4 separate regions of the Homo sapiens genome follow, and all the other regions are linked to region 1. The links are contacts of gene promoters, found by promoter capture Hi-C in blood cells and fetal thymus (Javierre and others, 2016). All regions are on one chromosome and are shown on one strand. Each heading gives the region's core, a stretch centred on a gene start or on the middle of the fragment in contact. The rest is flanking DNA. Distances are from core to core; before and after follow the strand shown.

Region 1 (2,994 bases), core at 189-2,688:
GGCCAAGGCAGGTGGATCGCTTCAGCCCACGAGTTCCAGACCAGCCTGGGCAACATGGTGAAACCCTGTCTCTACTAAAAATACAAGAATGTGCCAGGCTGTGGTGACGCACCTGTAGTCCCAGCTACTTGGGAGGCTGAGATTGGAGGATCGCTTGAGCCCGGGAGGTTGAGGCTGCAGTGTGCCACTGCACTCCAGCCTGAGTAACAGAGCGAGACCCTGTCTCAAAACAAAACAAACAAACAATAGTAATGGTCCACAAACATAGGGCTTGTAAAACATCAATATACAAGAAATAAAGTTTTTACACAATCCATAGCACTTATACTTCAGATTCTGATCAATTATAGTCATCAGAAACATACGTATTATGTTGCCAATAAATGATTTAAAAAAAAGCAAAATCTGATTGGTCGTATTTAAGTATACTCAACGGGTTTTTGAAATCTGAGCAAAGGCAAGAGAAATATTGAATCCCTCATGTCATGTCACTGGTCAGGAATGAGTGTCTCCAAAAACCGTTGCCATCCCGTACCCTTGATTTCCCAGAAAGCAGTGGTTGTCTTAAATGTGTGGTTTGTTAATTATTTTCATAAAAAACTTGCCAGTAGATGGACAGTAAATCGCATACGGAGCTCAGAAAAGGCCCCAAATGCGTAAAGACGACAAAAGAGTAAAGAAGGGCAAACAACAAGGATTTTCAACACTGGAGACTTAAAAGGTGTTACTTAAAAGGTGTTTCAAAGAAAGAATCTGGGCGCTTTGCTCTTTATAGTCACCTGCCTCCGAGGGAGGGAGCTCTCGGGCTTGAATGTGCCCAAGGTTCAACCTCTACGGTAGGAAATGCGCCCAAGTTTCAACCTCTACGGTGGGAAATGCGCCCAAGTTTCAACCTCTACGGTGGGAAATGCGCCCAAGTTTCAACCTCTACGGTGGGAAAAAGACGCCTGCGATAAAACAAAGCGCTCGGTGGTGGTGGCCCTCGCGTCGCACCTCACGCCGTGCAGCGACACGAGACGAACACAGGGTGCGCTCTGAAAGGCCGGGTCCCGCGTTCCGGTCGATCGGTGTTCCCCGGGACCCGCTCCTCAGGGCTGACCCAACTTCCTCCGGAAGGGGCGCTCTGCCTCTAGTCGCTCGCCGGCTCCCAGCCCCGACCCCAGACCCCTCGGACGCCCCCATAGGCCTAGCTGGCGCCCCAACCGCCCACCCTCCGCTACCCACCCGCGGCGGCCCCGACCCCAAGCCGGAGCCTACTAGTCCCAACGGCCGGCTGGGGGCGCGGGAGCGGCGGGCGCGGCGGGCTGGAGGGCGGGCACCGCGAAGGGAGGGCGCCCCACTTCCCCGCACCGCCCGCCAGGCCCGCCGAGCACTGACCGGCTCGGGACAGCCCAGGCCCCTGTCGGCGAGCGCTGGACTCCTCAGCTTCGCTCTGCCACACCGCGCAGCCGCCGTCCGCGTCTTTTGTTGTCGCGAGTTCTCCTGGCAACCGGCGAAGCCCGCCTCCCGCCGCGTCCTCTCCTGGATGCCGCGTCCTGGCCCCGCCCCCATCCTGGCCACGCCTCCAAGCCCGCCGCGCAGGAGTCCTGCGTCCCCAGGAAGTCCGCAAAGGGCCGGCCCCTGGGCTTGCCTGCAAATCCGAGTTGTGTCCCACCAACGCGCTGGGACCGGTCTGTGAGGCCTGAGCGCAAGCATCTTTCTACGGGTTCGTGAAATGAGTGAGAACGATTCCACACCGTGTTTCAATATCTTAGCTACCAATTCAGTTTATTTTTATTTTTATTGAGTAAAACTTGCCTAACATAAACCATCTTAAAACTCACAATTCAGTGGCGTTTAATGCATTCACAGTGTTGTGCAACCATCACCTCTGTATATAGTTCAGAAACATTTTCATAACCCCAAAAGAAAATCCCCAAACCAGTTAGCAGTCATTCCTTCTGGTTCCCCTCTCCCCACAACCCCAGCCAGCCACTAATCTACTTTCTGACTCTGTGATAGCTTTACCTATTCTGGGCATTTCTTTATTGATGGAATCATTCAGTATATGACCTTTTGTGTCTAGCTTCTTTTGCTTAATGTTTTCAAGATGCAGTCATGTTGTAACATCTATCAGGACTTCTTTTCTTTTTTTTCTTTTCTTTTTTTTGAGACCGAGTCGCGCTCTGTCGCCCAAGCTGGAGTGCAGTGGCGTGATCTCGGCTCTCTGCAACCTCCACCTCCCGGGTTCAAGCGATTCTCCTGCCTTAGCCTCCCGAGTAGCTGGGATTACAGGCGCGTGCCACCACGCCCGGCTAATTTTTTGTATTTTTAGTAGAGACGGGGTTTGTTTCACTGTGTTAGCCAGGATGGTCTTGATCTCCTGACCTCGTGATCTGCCCGCCTCGGCCTTCCAAAGTGCTGGGATTACAGGCGTGAGCCACCACGCCCGGCCCTTTAGATGGAGTTTCGCTCTTATTGCCCAGGCTGGAATGCAATGGCGCCATCTAGGCTCAACGCAACCTCCACCTCATGGGTTCAAGCGATTCTCCTGCCTCAGCCTCCGGAGTAGCTGGGATTACAGGCATGAGCCACCCTGCCCGGCCCTATCAGGACTTTTTAGGGCTGAAAAAATTCCATTGTATGGATATAGACATACCACATTTTGTTTATCCATTCTTCAGCTGGTGGTGGACATTTGGGCTGTTTCCATGCTGCTATGGACATTCACATACAATATTTGGATGTCTGTTTTCAGTTCCTTTTTTTTTTTTGAGATGGAGTCTCGCTCTGTTGCCCAGGCTGGAGTGCAGTGGCGCTATCTCAACTCACTGCAAGCTCCGCCTCATGGGTTCAAGCAATTCTCCTGCCTCAGCCTCTGGAGTAGCTGGGATTACAGGCATGTGCCACCACCACGCCTGGCTAAGTTTTCTGTATTTTTAGTAGAGACGGGGTTTCACCATGTTGGTCAGGCTGGGCTCGAACTCCCGACCTCAGGTGATCCGCCCACCTTGG
Region 2 (2,994 bases), core at 263-2,762, 680 kb before region 1:
TTTGCAATCACTGTGCTATCATTGTTTCTTTCTAATCTACATAGAAATAGGTCTCACCACAGGGGTTGAAGATTCAACTGCACCCAAAGCAAGATCCAGTGTTTCCAAACTGTTAGGAGCTCTTGAAATGGATGTGGGTAACCAAGGCTATTGTGCCAAGGGTTCTGAGAATCAACTTCCACATCGAACATTTATCAAAAGGTAAATAGCACAGGACAGAGGACCAGAAAAAAGAAAGTCACGCAGAGAAAGAAATCAGGAGACCTTGCATTTGTAACTTGACTATACATTTGCAATATACTCCCTACTTTGAACAACTTAGAAAAAAACATTTCTTTCTTACAAACACAGTTTCCTCCTGAAAGGAATTTTGATGTATTCTATTTTCTGATGTCTTACTATTTTGGATGTGTATCCACGTTATAGGCAACGAGATGTTTTGTTTATAAATAAATGTAGAAGAAAAATAGATGTTTTTTAGAAGCAAATTCTGGTTCTTGTTATATCTTCTGAAACTTCCAAATCCAATTTTGTTATGCATTGCCACCATGATGCTATTACTTCAGTAGAACAGGATGTCCTCAAAGAGTGAAATGGTTACGATGAGTCTAGAATGACCTGGAGGTGCCAGATTATGGGCCTTAACTCCTAGCATTTCTCAAGTAGTTACTACATGTCCAAGACTTTGCTAAGGGATTTGCAAATTCTAACTTATTTTTAAATTCCATAACAGCTCTGAGATAAGTGCTGTAGTTAAACATAATTTTAAAGATGAGGATGCCAAGAATTCAAGAGATCAAATGAGTTACCTAAAGTTACACCTAAGAAGAGCAGGAAAGCTGAGACCAGAGCTGAGGCCATCTGGCTGGAGAGCCTGAGCTCTTAGCCATCATATTACACCGACTTTCTGTTCCAGATATGCCAGCTACTTCTATCTTTATATCAGTATCTCCTAGGCAGCAATTTTATACTCTGGCCTTTTGTCATTTTTACAGAAGCACTAATAATGATGCACAAAATTATTTTGTGTAAAAAAATTAAAATTTTTGTTTTTAATAGTTTTTGTAGAATCTATTAAAATATTAATATTCATAGTTCATAAGAAAATATTAATAGTTATTTCATAATAGCTTAAGTAACTATTGAACAAAAGTTAAAAATTTATTAGAAGTAAATATCAATGGTATAAATCAAATTATTTAATCTTTATGCACAAATATTACTTATCGCTAAAATGAAACTGGGTTCAGCATTATCTATTTTTCATTTTGATAGAATTAAGTACTGACAAAACTTGCTGACAAATAGAAATGGAAAGGTTCTTGGTTATAATAAAGCTACTCAACTCGTACTCCTCACAAAATATGTTAAAAAATAACATAGTGAACCACAACAAATATAATTTTTGCTAACAGCTTTGTTGAGCTATAATTAACATACCATAAATAATGCATAAAATTCATTGGTCTTTGTTCACAGAGTCATGCGACCATCGCAACTACATAATTCAAAGAAAAATTTTATCACCCAAAAAAGAAACTCTGTACCTATTAGCAGTCATTCTTCATTCTCCCTACCCGTGGAAATCACTAATCTACTTTCTGTCTCTATAGATTTGCCTATTCTGGACATTTTATATAAATCAAATCATGCAATAGATGGCCTTTTGCTTTTGGCTTCTTTTACTTAGCATAATGTTTTCAAAGTTCATCCATGGTGTAGCGTGTACCAATACTTCATTCATTTTTATGGAATGGATACACTACATTTGTTTATGCAATTTACGAACCGATGGACATACGGGTTGTTTCCACTTCTGTGCTATTATGCAAAGTGCTGCTATGAAAATTACCCATTTTTTTGTGTAAATATATGTTTTCTGTTCTCTTGAGTATATACCTAAGAGTGGAATTGCTGGCTTGTATGGTAACCTTATGCTTAACTTTTTGAAGAACTACGAAACTGTTTTCCAAAGTAGCTGCACAATTTTTTTTTTTTTTAGACGGAGTCCCGCTCTTTCGCCCAGGTTGGAGTGCAGTGGCGCGATCTCGGCTCACTGCAAGCTCTGCCTCCCGGGTTCACGCCATTCTCCTGCCTCAGCCTCCGGAGTAGCTGGGACTACAGGCGCCCGCCACAGCGCCCGGCTAATTTTTTGTATTTTTAGTAGAGACGGGGTTTCACCGTGTTAGCCAGGATGATCTCGATCTCCTGACCTCGTGATCTGCCCGCCTCGGCCTCCCAAAGTGCTGGAATTACAGGTGTGAGCCACCGCGCCCAGCCTAGTAGCTGCACAATTTTACATTTTTACCAGGAATATATGAGGGTTTCAATTTATCCACATCCTCAGCAACACTTCGTGGCCTGTCTTTTTATTATAGCCATTCTTGTGGGTGTAAAGTAGAATCTCAATGTGGCACTGATTTGCATTTCTTTAATGACTAATGATATTGGACATCTTTTCGTGTGCTTACTATCCATTTGCATATTTCCTTTACCAAAATGTCTATTGTGATAACATTTCCTACTTTAAAAATTGGTTATGTTTTTTATTACTGAGTTGTAAGTATTCTTTATGTATTATGGGTACAAATTCATTATCGGATGTATGATTTAAAAATATTTTCATCCCTTCAGTGTTTTGTCTTTTCACTTTTCTTGACAGTGTCTTTTAAAGCACAAAAGTTTTTAAATTTATCTATTACTATCTAATTTACCTATTTTTTATTTTGTCTCTAGTGCTTTTGCTGTCCTTAGAAACCATCCTCTCTAATCAAAGGTTACAAAGATCTGATCTTATGTTTCTTCTAAAAGTTTTGTAAATTTTATTAAACACAAGGTCTCTGATTTATTTTGTGCTAATTTGTGTATACAGTGTGAGAAATTGGTCCAATTTTATGATTTTGCTGTTAGATATCAGTTGTTGAAAAGACTATTCTTTCCCCTTAGAATTGTCTTGTCATCTTGTTCACAATCAATTTTTCACAAATGCATAGT
Region 3 (2,994 bases), core at 163-2,662, 620 kb before region 1:
GAGAGTAATGGCCCCATGAAAGGTCAGCCCGGAGTCAGGCCAATGGGAACGGGCCAAATATGATGAATACAGGCAGGAACAGAGAACTTGTAAGAGGATGAGATGACAGAGTTTGGCCAGGTGATTAAAAGGATGAGATGACAGAGTTTGCCCAGGCAATGGCACAGCATCCTGCTTGTTAAGGTGACGCTCCAGACCTAATCAATGACTCTCCTGAGAGCACATAACTCAAAGTGGAGCCCAGCTGTGCTCATGCCATGGCCCAGGCAAATCTGTCTGAGTGAGATGTCTAAGGAAGTGAGAATGTCCTTCTTTAATGCTGTATGTCACTACACAAAGGGATGTTATAGGGGATTTGGAAAAGCCAGCTTTTAAAGCCACCTGGAACCCACAGTGATCATCCACTCACCTGTGCACCTCAGGAGGCTCCCTCTGGATCTTGGAACTGGCCTCCACCACCTCTTTGGCAACTTTCCCACTGCAAAAGACAGAAACACATGTGTATGCACACATAGTCAGAGAAGAATGGGAGGGATATGCACAAGTGTCCTTTTGTTAACTTCACAGGTGTCTGACCCAGCTATAGAAATCATGAGGGGGAAAATTACGGTAGAATTTGAGGGTGCCCTGTGAGCATAAGACAGCAATGGAGTAGAAATGGAAGACTCAAACAGAGGCACAAGCCAAAGGCCACTTATTTGCAAGCAGAATTTTGAAATTTAAGTGGCTGCCCATCCCCACCCCCTCACTGAAATGGAACCATTGGTACCCACCTATATCGAAATCTACTTCCTTTAAAAAATATCTTGCTGCTTGATACAGTCTTGATCTGACTGGATTTTGCATACCTTTAAGAAAAAGCAAAGCACAGGTGGTTAGGACATTGGAAAGTCCACTTACAACATGCTATAGAGGTGTGGTGATGGGGTATTTTTACTGCAAGAAAGAAATGTAATTTACCTTGTGACTCAGCCTGCATTGTGCACACAAAATATAAGAAAAGCTTCACAAAAGAATAGTTACTTTCACTATGTGTATTGCATTCTAATATTTTCTACGCTATTTCCTTTCATTCTTTTTAAATTCATGACCCACATACTGGGTTTCATAATTCATTAGTGGGTCACAACCTGCAAAAAGGACTGGGCAGTGATGATCAGAAGGAATTCTCCCCTAATTTCTATCTGAAGATATGGAGAAGAGGGAATTTTGTGACATGGCATCAGGAAGTTCGTGGTTGTTAGGGCACTTTGCTGCCTATTCCTGTATCCACAGTGAGGCAGAAAACAGCTTCCTGGCAACAGAGGTCACTGACTATGCCACGAAGAACTCACTGTGCATTGCCCAAGTGAGGGAACAAGGGTCCCGCATCACCACAGGAATGGTCACTGGCTTCTGTGTCACCATGACCCAGTGCCCTTTAAAAGAACCCACAGTGGTAGATGACTAAGATACACGAGGCAGAAGCTGCCCAGACAAGAACTGATTCAGCACCTCTGAGCCCTACTCGTAAATAAGAGCAAAACAACAACACTCTGAAAAGCAGCCTAGAGCCTGGGCTGCCGGAAGGCTGCACACAGGGCACTAAATTACTGTGACAGCTGAGGATGGCTCTACAGCAGTCATGTTAAGCCTTGTACAATTAAATCCAACAAGTTAGAAAGAACAGGTCTCAGAGAGTTCAGCATCGTTTAAAATATTGATAGTCACAAAATCTTAAACACACACAGACAAAATCAATATGATCTGTAGCATCCTGAGCAAAGACATGCACGGAGCCAGGGAAGTTTCAGCGCAGTGATCCCCACCCTTGAGCCTCTTGAAGCTTCCTTTATTCACTCAGCAATCATTAACTGAGTGCCATCCCTGCTCTACACACCAAGGTAAGTACAAGAAAGACACATGGCTGATCTAGCCTGGGGGCCAGAGAAGATGCCCTGAGGAAGGGACATCTGAGTTGAGATCCAGAGGCTGAAAGGTGTTAACCAGGGCACGGTGCAAGTGGTGGTGGATATACCCAGCAGAGGGCCAGCAGGCGCAAAGCCATCAGCCTAAACATCTAGAGAACTCAAAACACTCAATTATTCTAAGTTAAGCAACTCAGGAATGGAAAACCAAAAATTCTATATTCTCACTTCTAAGTGGGAGCTAAGCTATGCATATGCAAAGGCATACAGAGTGATATAATGGACTTTATAGACTCAGAAGGGGAGGGTAGTAGGGGCCAGGGATAAAAACTACACATTAGGTGCAATATACACTAATTGACAGGTGCTCCAAAATCTCAGAATTTACCACAATATAATTCATCCATGTAATTGAAAACCATTTGTACCCCAAAAGGTATTGAAATTTTTTAAAAATATATAAAATACATTTTTAAAAGACTCAATGCACATTTTCCCATGTTATTATTACTACACACACACATATTTTTTTTCCTTTCCTAATAAAGATAAGTGAATGTACAGATGTACGAAGGAGAATAAGGCAAACTTGGACAGAGAGCCAGAATCCAATTTCCCAGGACCAGACCTTAAGTGGTCCTTGTTAAGGATCTTGGTCTTTATCGAGAGAACAATGGAAAGCCATAGGAACAATCTTTTGCAAAGAAGCCCCTTCCCACCACCTGTGTAAACAGCCAAAGATGACACAGAAGGGCACTGGACACAAATATTAAGCAGGGAGAGTAAGATGGGCAAGGGAGGGCACAGGGCTTGGCAGGGGGATCCTGTCAGGGCAGGGCCCAGAGAAAATGGTACAGGACCCCTGAGGACACACAGAGGCACGTGAGAGCCATGGCCCTGGGGGGGGCCCTGCAGTGTGCTGGCTGGAGCTTCCTTCCAGACCACACCCACTCACGAGGCTAGAAACCCCCAGCAAGCTGCATTGAGATGGTCCCAGCTGTGCCCTCCACCTCCTATGAGGACATGCCTGCTCTGGGTCCATCTGCACCCCCTAAAACTCCCCACTAGCCCTACAGAGCTGTGGCCT
Region 4 (2,994 bases), core at 300-2,799, 580 kb before region 1:
GCTAGCTACAGGCATTAATATTTAGGAGATGGACGATCCCAGTGCTTCCATTTTCCATAGGTAATTTCCAAAGGTGATGGGACAATGGACCACCAATATGAAACTGGGTCATCTTCAATGCAAATGTCAGCTTGCAGAGTGGTTGGTGAGGGAGGGCATCGTTTTTCAGGGTGCCCTTTTCTTTCCAGGAAATCTTGTGAGATATTATAGACTTGCAATGCTACACACTGCAAATGTTAGAAAAGTTAGAGAAGAAATGCTGTGAAGACTGCACCGGATTGCTGACAAGATTAACACTGTCCCCATCACAGGCCCTGCTCTGATTCCCTAAAGCTTGTCTTTAACTCTGACCTCTCCTTAAGCAGAAGGCAGGTTTTTTAAAATGAATAAAGATTTCTAGCTATTCATACCAAGAGGAGTTGGGTAAGCCGCCATGGTTCTCCCTCCTGCTCATGACTTGGAAGTTGAAGTCGTGACAAATGACATACAACTGGAGGCCCTGCGGTTTGAAACCAGCTCTAGCACTTTTCTAAAAGGATTCAATTCTAAGAGAAAAATCCAATGAGTTTGAAGTGAATGGGTGAGTAAGGTCAGAAACAGTAAGTCTAAAAAGCAACAGGCTTTCCCCTGGTTTGGAAAGGACTCATTCCAAAAGAATTTGAGATGCAGGACCTTTAGCTCCAGGGCCAACTCCTTCAGGAGCTTTCCCTGACCCATGCTTGCTAAGTCAGGAGCCCTCCTGGGACACTCATAGCAGGGACTGGGCCTGTGTGTTCCTCCATCTAACCAACAACGCAGGGTCACAATGGCCTGTTTCCTTATCCATCTTCCCACAGGAACTTTGTATTGCCATGTGGCCCCCTAGCAACTTCTCAGGAAGTATTTGGAGAACACATGAACAAATGAATGAATGAGGTAGTGATACCATCCCAGCAGGCGGCCAACCAGTCTTTCCCATAGTTAAATGAATCAGGCACAATCATTTAACTAAATGTTAAATGAATCAGGCACAGTCATTTAACGAAATGTTAAATTTAAACGTTAAATGGTTGTGACTAATTTAATTAACCATGGTTAATCAGGGCAAGTTTGAAGCTTCAGTATATTCTGAGTTTATTAAAAACAGTCAATCAAGCCAGGTGTGGTGGTGCACACCTGTAATCCCAGTTACTTGGGAGGCTGAGGTAGGAGGATTGCTTGAGGTCAGAGTTTGAGACCACCCTGAGTAACACAGTGAGATCCTGCCTACAAAAAAATACAAAACCTGTCAATCACCTGGAGTTTAGGCAAGTGCCCCGATTCATTTCAGGCAAGTGCCCTGATTCATTTAACATATTTAGTGGAGAACCTGCTGTGTGCCAGACACAGGAAGAGTGCTGTGAAAAAGCACCCAGATCCTACTCCCATGGAATTAGATTCTATATAAGAGGAAATGCACAATAAGCCCAAAAACAACTCAAGATCTAAGTGTTTGCAAGAAAACACAACAGGGCTCTGAGAAAGAATGACGTGCAGGAGGGAGCTGCTTTAGCTCGAGTGGTCCAGGTAGACTTACCAGAGGAAGTGACTTCGGGACTGAGTTCTGAATATCCAGCAGGAGTCAAGATTTCTACAGGGGTTGAACATACCAGGCAGAGGAGATAAGTTGAATTCCTCTGTGGTGTTGTTTTGTAAAAGGAACAGGAAAGATATTTTTACCAAGAAAGAATATAAATAGATCCCAAGGATTCTGTGTTTGTTTTGCAATTTGTATTATGAAAGAAAATGCATTGCATGTCTTAAATATGCTCGTTGGATTCAGTATGTACAGGCAGCAAAACTCCAGGTGATTGACTGGTTTTGTATTCCTTGTGGAGACAAGGTCTTGTCTATGTTGCCCAGGCTAGTATCAAACTCCTGGCCTCAAGAAATCCTCCTGCCTCAGCCTCCCAAGTAGCTGGAATTACAGGTGTGCACCACCACATCCAACTTGATTGACTGTTTTTTATAAACTCAGAATATACTGAAGCTTAAAACATACTCCTTGAAAGAGCATTAGCAAACAAGACGATGAGGGGCGACAGTGCCTCCTGATTGCTAATCACTTACTCCATCTTCCCTATTACTCTGTAAGAATAAGATTGCTAATCACTTACTCCATCTTCCCTATTACTCTGTAAGAATAAGCAGTTCTGAAATGCCCATCTATATCTGTATTTGTGAATGACCTGCAGTGCTGCCGAAGTACTCACCCGAGAATCAGACCTTTATGAACCACTTTTACTGAATTTGCTATAAATGACCACAGACAGCACTGCATTTGAGAGCCAAAAGGTCTTTTTGAGGTCTGCCAGTCCATTTCCCACTCTACTTTCTCCACAGTGTCTGTGTGAGTGTGGTCAGTAATAATAGCAATGAGGGATAAAATAGGGCCCTGATCGTCTGGATGGAGGCTCCGTGGCTTTATTTCAAACAGAAAACAGGATGGCGAGCTTTCCATTATAGATCCATATTGAGCATGTCCTTGGAGAATTGATGGTAATTCACTAATGCCTAAATGCATTCTGAAATCCTCATATGCTGGTCTGTTGCTTGGATTAGTATCGATTCCCTTGTCTCTTACCTAAGACAGTGCACCCTAACTCAAGATGTGCAGCCTTCACCATGGAGGAAGGGAACTATGGGATTTACAGTCCTTTCACTCCAAGGTAAGAGAGGCAGCTTTCAGAAACACATTCTCTACTTCAGTGTCGGTGAAGGGGCTGTTTCCCATTACAGTATCAACCATAGTGCTTTAAATGGGAAAATACCCAAGGGTTTTAACACCTCTGCCAAAATCTGCTGTCCAGGATGAAGCTGTTCCCAGGGAAGGGGGTGAAGAACAACACACACACCCATTTCGGAATTCTCAGAGAGACCAAACACAACTGAGAACAGGATCAAAGGAACTATTTCACAGCACAGAGCATCCCACAGGGAGGGCGGTGGGCCACAGGGGAATCCCCAGGAGAATGA

The links. The method cuts DNA at HindIII sites, captures the fragments that hold promoters and counts their contacts. A CHiCAGO score of 5 or more calls a contact.
Region 2: a contact is called between a fragment that was not itself captured here and the fragment with the promoter of KIF27 in region 1, in 1 of 17 cell types (monocytes). The highest score is 6.5, in monocytes.
Region 3: a fragment that was not itself captured here is called in contact with the fragment with the promoter of KIF27 in region 1 in 1 of 17 cell types (M0 macrophages); the score reaches 5.3 in M0 macrophages.
Region 4: a fragment that was not itself captured here is called in contact with the fragment with the promoter of KIF27 in region 1 in 4 of 17 cell types (total CD8 T cells, total CD4 T cells, neutrophils and 1 more); the score reaches 6.8 in total CD8 T cells.

Annotation. Positions count from the first base shown.
Region 1 is chr9:83,919,994-83,922,987 of GRCh38, forward strand. It overlaps KIF27 (kinesin family member 27), which reads right to left and starts at 1,439. Exons shown (of 18, transcript NM_017576.4): 1 at 1,378-1,439. It overlaps LOC105376335 (serine/arginine repetitive matrix protein 1-like), which reads left to right and starts at 908. Exons shown (of 3, transcript XM_011519284.2): 1 at 908-1,268; 2 at 1,361-1,705. The coding sequence starts at 908. RefSeq lists enhancers at 971-1,720, 2,335-2,839 and silencers at 1,042-1,421, 1,452-1,601. The HindIII fragment of the contact is 5,103 bases long and covers 1-2,994 here.
Region 2 is chr9:83,235,621-83,238,614 of GRCh38, forward strand. All of the region lies in intron 2 of FRMD3-AS1 (FRMD3 antisense RNA 1), which reads left to right. Among named protein-coding and RNA genes, the nearest start is that of FRMD3-AS1, 18 kb to the left of the region's middle. The HindIII fragment of the contact is 4,774 bases long and covers 1-2,994 here.
Region 3 is chr9:83,298,339-83,301,332 of GRCh38, forward strand. FRMD3 (FERM domain containing 3) reads right to left here. Exons shown (of 14, transcript NM_174938.6): 11 at 774-848; 12 at 410-478. Among named protein-coding and RNA genes, the nearest start is that of FRMD3-AS1, 80 kb to the left of the region's middle. The HindIII fragment of the contact is 822 bases long and covers 1,002-1,823 here.
Region 4 is chr9:83,338,926-83,341,919 of GRCh38, forward strand. All of the region lies in intron 5 of FRMD3 (FERM domain containing 3), which reads right to left. Among named protein-coding and RNA genes, the nearest start is that of FRMD3-AS1, 120 kb to the left of the region's middle. The HindIII fragment of the contact is 913 bases long and covers 1,094-2,006 here.